3 separate regions of the Homo sapiens genome follow, and all the other regions are linked to region 3. Evidence: promoter capture Hi-C in human tissues and cell types (Jung and others, 2019). All regions are on one chromosome and are shown on one strand. Each heading gives the region's core, a stretch centred on a gene start or on the middle of the fragment in contact. The rest is flanking DNA. Distances are from core to core; before and after follow the strand shown.

Region 1 (2,700 bases), core at 1-2,500, 360 kb after region 3:
ATGCTGCCTTGTTATTCTTTACTCCACCGACATGTTTGGGTGGAGAGAAACATAAATCTGGCTTACGTGCACGTCCAGTCATAGTACCTTCCCTTGAACTGAATTATGATGTAGATTCTATTGCTCACGTTTGTTGCTGACCTTCTCCTTATTATCACCCTGCCCTCCTACTACATTCCTTTTTACTGAAATAATGACGATAATAATCAATAAAAACTGAGGGAATTCAGAGACCGGTGCCGGTGCAGGTCCTTGGTATGCTGAGCGCCGGTCCCCTGGACTCACTGTTGTTTCTCTATACTTTGTCTCTGTGTCTTATTTCTCTTTCTCAGTCTCTTGTCCCACCTGACTAGAAATACCCACAGGTGTGGAGGGGCAAGCCACCCCTTCAAGCAGTAGCAACCCGCTTGGGTCCCCTTCCACACTGTGGAAGCTTTGTTCTTTCACTCTTTGCAATAAATCTTGCTGCTGCTCACTCTTTGGGTCCACACTGCCTTTATGAGCTGTAACACTCACCGTGAAGGTCTGCAGCTTCACTCCTGAGGCCAGTGAGGCCACGAACCCACCAGGAGGAATGAACAACTCCAGACAGGAGGAACGAACAACTCCAGACATGCTGCCTTAAGAGCTGTAACACTCACTGCGAAGGTCCGCAGCTTCACTCCTGAAGCCAGCAAGACCACGAACCCACCAGAAGGAAGAAACTCTGAACATGTCTGAACATCAGAAGGAACAAACTCCAGACACGCTGCCTTTAAGAACTGTAACACTCACCGCGAGGGTCCGCAGCTTCATTCTTGAAGTCAGTGAGACCAAGAACCCACCAATTCCAGACATACCTTCATTTTGGGCCTATGTGTGTCTTTGCATGTGAGATGGGTCTCCTGAATACAGCACACCATATGGGTCTTGATTCTTTATCCAATTTGCCAGTCTGTGTCTTTTAATTGGGGCATTTATCCCATTTACATTGAAGGTTAGTATTGTTATATGTGAATTTGATCCTGTCATGACGTTAGCTGGTTATTTTGCCCATTAATTGATGCAGTTTCTTCATAGCATCAATGGTCTTTACAATTTCGTATGTTTTTGCAGTGGCTGGTACCCGTTGTTCCTTTCCATGTTTAGTGCTTCCTTCAGGAGCTCTTATTGTAAGGCAGGCCTGGTGGTGACAAAATCTCTCAGCATCTCCTTGTCTGCAAAGGATTTTATTTCTCATTCACATACGAAGCTTAGTTTGGCTGGATATGAAATTCTAGTTTCAAAAATCTTTTCTTTCAGAATGTTGAATATTGGTCCCAACTCTTTTCTGGTTTGTATGGTTTCTGCTGAGAGATCTGCTGTTAGTCTGATGGGCTTCCCTTTGTTGGTCACCCAACCTTTCTCTCTGGCTGCCCTTAACCTTGCTGAGTCTGACAATTATGTGTCTTGGGGTTGCTCTTCTCAAGGAGTATCTTTGTGATGTTCTCTGTATTTCCTGAATTTGAATGTTTCTTTTTTATTTTTTTGTCTCTAATCTTGTCTTCTCACTTTATTTCATTAATTTTATCTTCAATCACTGATATCCTTTCTTCCACTTGATTGAATCAGCTATTGAAGCTTGTGTATCCTTCATGAAGTTCTTGTACTGTGGTTATCAGCTCCATCAGGTCATTTAAGCTCTTCTCTACATTCTTCATTCTAGTTAGCCATTCGTTTAACCTTTTTTTGAAGGTTTTTAGCTTCCTTGTAATGGGTTAGAACATGTTCCTTTAGCTGGGAGTAGTTTGTTATTACTGACCTTCTGAAGCTTAACTTCTGTCAAGTTATCAAACTTATTCTCCATCCAGTTTTGTTCCCTTGCTGGTGAGGACTTGTATTCCTTTGGAAGAGAAGAGACGTTCTGGTTTCTGGAAGTTTCAGCATTTCTGCTCTGGTTTCTCTCCATCTTTGTGGTTTTATCTACCTTTGGTCTTTGATGTTGGTGACCTATGGATGGGGTTTTAGTGTGGATGTCCTTTGCTATTCTGATGTTGATGCTGTCCTTTGCTGATGTTGATGCTATTCCTTTCTGTTTGTTAGTTTTCCTTCTAACAGGCCCCTCAGCTGCAGGTCTTTGGGGGTTTGCTGGAAGTCCATTCCAGACCTTATTTTCTTGGGTATCAGTAGAGGAGGCTGCAGAACAGCAAATATTGCTGCCTGATCCTTCTTCTGGAAGCTTTGTTCCACAGGGGCACCCACCTGTATGAGGTGTCTCTCCGCCCCTACTGGTCGGTGTTTTTCAGTCAAGCTACATGGGGGTCAGGGACCCACTCGGGGAGGCAGTCTGTCCGTTATCGGAGCACGAACTCCGTGCTGGGAGAACCACTGCTGTCTTTAGAGATGTCAGGCAAGGACACTGAAGTCTGCAGAAGCTGTCCGCTGCCTTTTGTTCAGATATGCCCTGGCCCCTGAGGTGGAATCTGGAGAGGCAGTAGGCCTTGCTGAGCTGCGGTGGGTTCCGCCCAGTTAGAGCTTCCCTGCAGCTTTGTTTACACTGTGATCATAGAACGCCTACTGAAGCCTTAGCAATGGAGGACTTCCCTCCCCCACGGCCCCGTTAACTGATGCAGTTTCGGCCCCCCGCCCCCCACCGCCCTCTCCACCCTACCTGTCAAGCTCCAGCTCCAGCGGAGGATGCTCCAGGGACAGCGATGTCAGGACTGAGATGCAGGGGCTGCC
Region 2 (4,722 bases), core at 1,111-3,610, 330 kb after region 3:
TGGTGCATCCTAACTGATTTGAGAGCCATCAATGCAGTAATTCAACCCATGGGGACTCTCCAACTTGGGCTGCTTTCTCCGGCCATGATCCCCAAAGATTGGCCTTTAATTATAATTGAGCTAAAGGATTGCGTTTTTACCATTCCTCTGGCAAAATAGGATTTAAAAAAATTTGCTTTTACTATACCAGCCATAAATAATAAAAAACCAGCCACCAGATTTCAGCGGAAAGTGTTGCCTCAGGGAATGCTTAATAGTCCAACTATTTGTCAGACTTTTGTAGCTCAAGTTCTTCAACCAGTTAGAGACAAGTTTTCAGACTGTTATATTATTCATTATGTTGATGATATTTTGAGTGCTGCAGAAACGAGAGACAAATTAATTGACTGTTACACATTTCTGCAGACAGAGGTTGCAAACGCAGGCCTGACAATAGCATCTGATAACATTCAGACCTCCACTCCTTTTCATTATTTGGGAAAGACCAACAGAGAAAAAAGAGAAACTGGGAAAGAAAGGAAGAGAGAAAGTGAGAAGAGAAATCAGAAAGAGAAAGGAGAGAAAACGGCAGATGTGGAGAGCCAGGGAGAAAAAGAAAAAGAAAAAGAGACTGAGTGTGAAGGAGAGAGGACACGGGATGACAGACAGAGAGAGAGAGAGAGAGAGAGAAAGAGAGGGAGAAAATGAGTAAGAGAGAGACTGGAAAAGACAGAGATCAGAGAAAGACACAGAAGGTGAGACTGGGGAAAAAAATAATGTAAAAGAGAAAGACAGAGATCAGAGAGAGACACAGAAAGTGAGACTGGGAAAAGAAATAGTGTAAAAGGAAGAAAAAGAGAAAAAGAGAGAGAGACCATAAGAGAAGGGAGACAATGAAACAAAAAGTGCGAGTGAGCAGGTGAGGAGAAAGATTGAAAACTATGAGAAACAACAACTAAGAGACAAAGGAGAAGGGAGACTGCCTGGGTGCCGGAGCACCCACACTGTCCTCTTGCCCCCATCACTTGGGTTAAAACCATTGGAAATTCCACTATTGCAAATTTTGTATTAATCCTTGTATGTCTGCCCTCTCTATTGTTAGTCTACAGGTGTATCCAGCAGTTCCAGAAAGACAGTGACCAGCAAAAACAGGCCATGGTGACAATGACAGTTTTGTCAAAAAGAAAAGGGGGATATGTAGGGAAAAGAAAGAGAGATCAGACTGTTACCGTGTCTATGTAGAAAGGGAAGACATAAGAGACTACATTTTGAAAAAGACCTGTACTTTAAATAATTGCTTTTCTGAGATGTTGTTAATTTTTAGCTTTGCCCCAGCCACTTTGACCCAACCACTTTGACCCAACCTGGAGCTCACAAGAACATGTGTTGTATGAAATCAAGGTTTAAGGGATCTAGGACTGTGTAGGACGTGCCTTGTTAACAAAATGTTTACAAGCAGTATACTTGGTAAAAGTCATCGCCATTCTCTAGTCTCAATAAACCAGGGGCACAGTGCACTGCAGAAAGCCGCAGGGACCTCTGCCCTTGAAAGCAGGGTATTGTCCAAGGTTTCTCCCCATGTGATAGTCTGAAATATGGCCTCCTGGGATGAGAAAGACCTGACTGTCCCCCAGCCCGACACCCATAAAGGGTCTGTGCTGCGGTGGGTTAGTAAAAAAGGAAGGCCTCTTGCAGTTGAGATAGAGGAAGGCCACTGTCTCCTGCCTGCTCCTGGGAACTAAAAGTCTCGGTATAAATCCCGATTGTACATTTGTTCAGTTCTGAGATGAGAGAAAAACCGCCCTATGGTGGGAGGCGAGACATGTTTGCAGCAATGCTGCCTCGTTATTCTTTACTCCACCGAGATGTTTGGGTGGAGAGAAACATAAATCTGGCTTACGTGCATGTCCAGTCATAGTACCTTCCCTTGAACTGAATTATTAGATTCTATTGCTCACGTTTGTTGCTGACCTTCTCCTTATTATCACCCTGCCCTCCTACTACATTCCTTTTTACTGAAATAATGACGATAATAATCAATAAAAACTGAGGGAACTCAGAGACCGGTGCCGGTGCAAGTCCTTGGTATGCTGAGCGCCGGTCCCCTGGGCTCACTGTTGTTTCTCTATACTTTGTCTCTGTGTCTTATTTCTCTTTCTCAGTCTCTCGTCCCACCTGACTAGAAATACCCACAGGTGTGGAGGGGCAAGCCACCCCTTCAAACAGTAGCAACCTGCTTGGGTCCCCTTCCACACTGTGGAAGCTTTGTTCTTTCGCTCTTTGCAATAAATCTTGCTGCCCCTCACTCTTTGGGTCCACACGGCCTTTATGAGCTGTAACACTCATCGTGAAGGTCTGCAGCTTCACTCCTGAGGCCAGTGAGGCCACGAACCCAGTGGGAGGAATGAACAACTCCGGATGGGAGGAACGAACAACTCCAGACATGCCGCCTTAAGAGCTGTAACACTCACTGTGAAGGTCCGCAGCTTCACTCCTGAAGCCAGCGAGACCACGAACCCACCAGAAGGAAAAAACTCTGAACGTGTCTGAACATCAGAAGGAACAAACTCCGGACACGCTGCCTTTAAGGACTGTAACACTCACTGCGAGGGTCCGTGGCTTCATTCTTGAAGTCAGTGAGACCAAGAACCCACCAATTCCAGACACACCTTCATTTTGAGCCTATGTGTGTCTTTGCACGTGAGATTGGGTCTCCTGAATACAGCACACCATATGGGTCTTGATTCTTTATCCAATTTGCCAGTCAGTGTCTTTTAATTGGGGCATTTATCCCATTTACATTGAAGGTTAGTATTGTTATATGTGAATTTGATCCTGTCATGACGTTAGCTGGTTATTTTGCCCATTAATTGATGCAGTTTCTTCATAGCATCAATGGTCTTTACAATTTCGTATGTTTTTGCAGTGGCTGGTACTGGTTGTTCCTTTCCATGTTTAGTGCTTCCTTCAGGAGCTCTTATTGTAAGGCAGGCCTGGTGGTGACAAACTCTCTCAGCATCTGCTTGTCTGTAAAGGATTTTATTTCTCCTTCACTTACGAAGCTTAGTTTGGCTGGATATGAAATTCTAGTTCCAAAAATCTTTTCTTTCAGAATGTTGAATATTGGTCCCGACTCTCTTCTGGTTTGTATGGTTTCTGCTGAGAGATCTGCTGTTAGTCTGATGGGCTTCCCTTTGTTGGTAACCCAACCTTTCTCTCTGGCTGCCCTTAACCTTGCTGAATCTGACAATTATGTGTCTTGGGGTTGCTCTTCTCAAGGAGTGTCTTTGTGATGTTCTCTGTATTTCCTGAATTTGAATGTTTCTTTTTTCTTTTCTTGTCTCTAATCTTGTGTTCTCACTTTATTTCATTAATTTTATATTCAATCACTGATATCCTTTCTTCCACTTGATTGAATCAGCTATTGAAGCTTGTGTATCCTTCATGAAGTTCTTGTACTGTGGTTATCAGCTCCATCAGGTCATTTAAGCTCTTCTCTAGATTCTTCATTCTAGTTAGCCATTCGTTTAACATTTTGTCAAGGTTTTTAGCTTCCTTGCAATGGGTTAGAACATGCTCCTTTAGCTGGGTGTAGTTTGTTATTACTGACCTTCTGAAGCTTACGTCTGTCAAGTCATCAAACTTATTCTCCATCCAGTTTTGTTCCCTTGCTGGTGAGGACTTGTATTCCTTTGGAAGAGAAGAGACGTTCTGATTTCTGGAAGTTTCAGCCTTTTTGCTCTGGTTTCTCTCCATCTTTGTGGTTTTATCTACCTTTGGTCTTTGATGTTGGTGACCTATGGATGGGGTTTTAGTGTGGATGTCCTTTCCTGTTCTGATGTTGATGCTGTCCTTTGCTGATGTTGATGCTATTCCTTTCTGTTTGTTAGTTTTCCTTCTAACAGGCCCCTCAGCTGCAGGTCTTTGGGGGTTTGCTGGAAGTCCATTCCAGACCTTATTTTCTTGGGTATCAGTAGAGGAGGCTGCAGAACAGCAAATATTGCTGCCTGATCCTTCTTCTGGAAGCTTTGTTCCACAGGGGCACCCACCTGTATGAGGTGTCTCTCTGCCCCTACTGGGCGGTGTTTTTCAGTCAAGCTACATGGGGGTCAGGGACCCACTTGGGGAGGCAGTCTGTCCGTTATCGGAGCACGAACTCCGTGCTGGGAGAACCACTGCTGTCTTTAGAGATGTCAGGCAAGGACACTGAAGTCTGCAGAAGCTGTCTGCTGCCTTTTGCTCAGATATGCCCTGGCCCCTGAGGTGGAATCTGGAGAGGCAGTAGGCCTTGCTGAGCTGCGGTGGGTTCCGCCCAGTTAGAGCTTCCCTGCAGCTTTGTTTACACTGTGATCATAGAACGCCTACTGAAGCCTTAGCAATGGAGGACTTCCCTCCCCCACGGCCCCGTTAATTGATGCAGTTTCCGCACCCCCCCCACGGCCCTCTCCACCCTACCTGTCAAGCTCCAGCTCCAGCGGAGGATGCTCCAGGGACAGCGATGTCAGGACTGAGATGCAGGGGCTGCCTTAGAGTCTGGATGCATGGGGTAGCGGGGTGTGAGGCACCGGGCCGGGGTGCAGGGCCGGAAGGAACGTGCTGGATCTGGGATGCTACCAGACGGGGCGTCCCAAAGACCGAGGCAGTCCCGTACCTTACAACTCTCAGATGAGCTCCACGGTGGGCTTGGCCACCGTGACCCCTACTGCCGAGGCTGCTGCAGAGGAGCCGCCGCCACCCACACCG
Region 3 (4,137 bases), core at 225-2,724:
CAATTCTGGAGAGGAGCTCTGAGGGGAGGAGCACAGGGCACACCTTGACACAGCCACTGACAAGTAGAGACTTCATACTCCCCACCCACCCCCAACTTGGCCTTTCTGACAGCTAAACCCTCCTGCCACCATCACTATTTCTCTTAAAGGGCGACCGCTCGTTAACATATACAACTGCTCTGGGGTGCAAGTTGGAGACAACAACTACTTGACTATGCAACAGACAACTGCCTTGCCCACATGGGGCTTGGCACCTTCGGGCAAGGGGAGGGGCTTGCAGCACCCCCCACCAGTAGGTTCGCAAGAAGGCCCTAAAGATCCTGAAGCCTGGAGCAGGCCACAGGGTTGGTATAATCATAGCGGGAAATAAAGCACCTTCCAAGCTTGCCTCCAAGAGTTACGAGTTAAGGAAGAGTGCCACCCCTTGAGGCCCCTGACTTCCTTCTAGGGCAGTCTGGCCTGCCCACAAACTGACTTTGTGACCTGTCCCCCAGGAGTCAATAAACATGATGGAATGCTAGTCAGTCTGAGCTCAGCCAGGGGCAGGGAGGGACTGGGATGGGGGTGGGAGCTGCCAGTGAGGGATAGGGAGGCACCACAGCTCTGCTATGGCAGGAAGTGGGGATGCTGGGGGCTGGGAGTGGGCAATGGCCTGGCACACAAGGTCAGGGCACAGCCGGCTACAACAGGAAGGAATCCTAGAGGCCTGGTTCCCCAGACCACTCTCTAATCTCAGGGCAGTGCTTCCTCTAAAGCCTAGGATGGCGACCCCACCCTAACCCTAAACTCTGGGGATAGAGGCTGTGGTCCCTTTTCTTCCGGGCTCTCAAGACTCACTTGCAGGGCTCTGGCGAGGGATGAGTTGATGTGAAAGATCACAGACCTGGCCCCGCACGGTGCCCCCAGGCTCTTAGAGATCATGACGCCACATACCTGCCTCCACCACACACTCAGGTTGCTTCCTGGACATTGCTTCCCTTTTGATTCCCAGTTGCTGTTCGGGAGTGGAAAGCTATGGCTCCTAAAGCTATACACAGGCGCAACCCCTCCCACGGAGCATGAACAGTTCAAACCCGGTGGTAGTGGTTGCCAGCCAAGCGGAGAGGTCAAGAGAATGAGCGCCCCCAACTCTGACCTAGATCCCCACCAGGACCCACATTCTTCCCTACATTCTCGCCAGGCTTCAGCCCCCCGCCCTCGGTCTCCCCACTACCAAACGTTCACCTCCATTTGGACACATCCCATTGGGTCCACCCCAGCCCACCCCTTCGCATCTCTCCCAGGGTCCACATTGCCCTTCCCTGAAGGGGCTGAAGCGGGGAGGCGATGGTGTTAGGAGAGACAAAACCAAGTGCGGGAGGAGACCAGGGGAGTCCGGCTTTGGCACAGGAAGGGGCCGGGCTGTCCCGTCGGGGAAGTGGGAGGGGGCCGCGGCGCCGGGAGGGAAGCGCCTGTCGCCCGGGACTCTGAGCCAGAGCGCAGCGGCGAGCGTGACTCCGCCATCAGGTCCCCGGCTCCCTCCCCGGACCTAGCCCACTCCGCTGCGCCAGCGCCGCGGGCAGTGAGTTCGGGGATCAGGGGAACCCGGGGCTCCCTCGCACCAACCCCAAATCCTGCCCTCCTGGCGATGAGGCTTTTCTAGGGCACCTCTACAATCCGGGTTTGAGGGAGGAGGAGGAAAGGACTGAGGGATCCCCTCATCGCCAGCTGGGAGCGGGCTGGGAGGCCGCAGGGAGGGCCTGAAAAAGGAGACGGGATTGCCACGAGGTTGGGGGCGCGGGGTGGTAGCGGCTTTGAGCGGGTGAGAAAAGCTCAGGTGGGGCCCGCCGGGCCGAAGGAGGTAACCCGGCGCCCGGCCCTAGCCAGCCCCGGGGCTCGGGGCTGGGGAGATCATGGCCCGCCTCTTCAGCCCCCGGCCGCCCCCCAGCGAAGACCTCTTCTACGAGACCTACTACAGCCTGAGCCAGCAGTACCCGCTGCTGCTGCTGCTGCTGGGGATCGTGCTCTGTGCGCTCGCGGCGCTGCTCGCAGTGGCCTGGGCCAGCGGCAGGGTGAGCCGAGCCTCTGCTGCGGGAGGGTCTCTACCTGGGGAGCATTTTCGGGGTTGGGGTTTGTGGGGTCTTCTTTTCGATGTGTTTTCGTTGCTGGGAGCAGAGAAAGAAAGGACCATTGAGCCTGGCTAGGAACTGCAGTGACCCTGGGCAAGTCACTCTACCCTTCTGGGTCTGCTCAGGGAGAAAGCTGAGTCCTGGATGCTTCTCGTTTCTGTCCGGGTTCTGACAGACTTTATGAACATCCGTGGTCTACGGGTTCTACAATAAATCCATCACCGGATTTTCCAGTTTTCCAAAGGGGAAATTCTAGGAGGCCCCTGGGGAATTCATTTCCTGCCTTTCTCTCCCTCTTAGGGGATGTAGAGCAGTTGTACCCACAGACTCCCAGAAGGCACCCTCCACCGGGCTCTCACTGAGTCCCAAAGTAAACCCATGTCCAGTTTCTGTTTGGGGAGGAAGAAGGTCTTCAATCCAATTCTAGAAATGGCCTGCCCCTGGTTTTCTTTTCACTGCTTGGAGGCAAGGTGGGAAAATCACCGGGCGCGGCCAATCCTTGCTGGTCCACGCCTAAATCCGGGAAGAGGTGGGGACAAAATGCTGGGACGGCTGTGCAGCTTCTGCTTGGAGTTGAGGCAGGTGGCGAGATCGCAGCCCTGGTGGCCAGGGAGGTGCGGGACGCCGCGGGTCCTGGCGCCCCCTGCTGCTCGAGCGCTGCCTCGCGCCGCCCTTCAAGCTGCCGGCCGCGGTCCCCGGCTCCGGGAATCTCCCGAGCAAATTGGCCAGATTTGGAGACATTCATTCCGAAGTGCCTCCTTGTGAGCTTGGATCTATCTTTCACTTGCTTCATGACGCTTTGGTTCCCGTTTGACAGATAAGAAAACTGAGGCTCAGAAACAAATAGGGGATGGGAGCCAGATCTTCTGGGTAGCTGTCCCAGCAAGATAATAGGTTGGACAACAGGAGGCTGGGCGCTGTGGCTCACGCCTGTAATCCCAGCACTTTGGGAGGCCAAGGCGGGAGATCGTTTGAGCCCAGGAGCTCGAGACCAGCCTGGGCAACTTGGCGAGACCCTGTCTTCTACTAAAAATACAAAAAAAAAAAAATTAGCTGGGCGTGGTGGCGGGAGCCTGTAATCCCAGCTACTCGGGAGGCTGAGGCATGAGAATCACTTGAACCCGGGAGGCAGAGGTTGCAGTAAGCCGAGATCGCGCCACTGAACTCCAGCCTGGGCGACAGAGCAAGACTCTGTCTCAAAAAACAAACCAACCAACCAACAAAAACCATACGAGACTGCTGAGTCTAGATAAAAGCAGTAGGACACAAGCAATTTCAAATGGTTCAACCTAAAGTGAATGGCAAGCGGAGGTGCCTTGCCTCCTTTTCGTACTTAGGCTTGAGACACCTTTCAGAACTGGGCTGAGGGGCTGGGCTGCTGGCTTTTCCTTTATCAGGTTCGTTCCTTCTCCCTGTCACAATCTTGCCTCACACACCCCTGCCCACAGGAGCTGACCTCAGACCCGAGCTTCCTGACCACTGTGCTGTGCGCGCTGGGCGGCTTCTCGCTGCTGCTGGGCCTCGCTTCCCGGGAGCAGCGACTGCAGCGCTGGACGCGTCCCCTGTCCGGCTTGGTATGGGTCGCGCTGCTAGCGCTAGGCCACGCCTTCCTGTTCACCGGGGGCGTGGTGAGCGCCTGGGACCAGGTGAGAGGGGCGGCAGGCGGGGCAGCGGGGACGGCCCGGGCTTCGATCCCTCACCAGGCCTTGAATAGCCCCACTTGGGCCTTCGGCTTCCCGCGCCCCGCCCCCAGGTGTCCTATTTTCTCTTCGTCATCTTCACGGCGTATGCCATGCTGCCCTTGGGCATGCGGGACGCCGCCGTCGCGGGCCTCGCCTCCTCACTCTCGCATCTGCTGGTCCTCGGGCTGTATCTTGGGCCACAGCCGGACTCACGGCCTGCACTGCTGCCGCAGGTGAGCACGCAAGTAGCACAGGCTGCGCTCAGGACGGCTCTGCCACGTGCTAGTAGGCTCCTTTTAGGGGGTTGTTGAGCTGTGACTCCAAGTCAAGGTGCAACGCTGGGCGCA

Evidence for each region. Contacts are between HindIII fragments. The study calls those that stand out against the background at their distance.
Region 1: a contact is called between a fragment that was not itself captured here and the fragment with the promoter of ADCY4 in region 3, in 1 of the 25 tissues and cell types used here (spleen).
Region 2: a contact is called between a fragment that was not itself captured here and the fragment with the promoter of ADCY4 in region 3, in 2 of the 25 tissues and cell types used here (pancreas and small bowel).

Annotation. Positions count from the first base shown.
Region 1 is chr14:23,970,262-23,972,961 of GRCh38, reverse strand. It overlaps a transcript of DHRS4L2 not described here. Among named protein-coding and RNA genes, the nearest start is that of DHRS4-AS1, 16 kb to the right of the region's middle. The HindIII fragment of the contact is 4,031 bases long and covers 1-2,700 here.
Region 2 is chr14:24,007,174-24,011,895 of GRCh38, reverse strand. It overlaps the pseudogene DHRS4L1. Among named protein-coding and RNA genes, the nearest start is that of DHRS4L2, 21 kb to the right of the region's middle. The HindIII fragment of the contact is 5,422 bases long and covers 1-4,722 here.
Region 3 is chr14:24,332,408-24,336,544 of GRCh38, reverse strand. ADCY4 (adenylate cyclase 4) reads left to right here and starts at 1,474. Exons shown (of 25, transcript NM_001198568.2): 1 at 1,474-2,051; 2 at 3,557-3,754; 3 at 3,862-4,023. The coding sequence starts at 1,893. RIPK3 (receptor interacting serine/threonine kinase 3) reads left to right here. Exons shown (of 10, transcript NM_006871.4): 10 at 150-520. The coding sequence ends at 370. RefSeq lists silencers at 1,768-1,847, 1,918-2,077, 2,738-2,837. The HindIII fragment of the contact is 10,200 bases long and covers 1-4,137 here.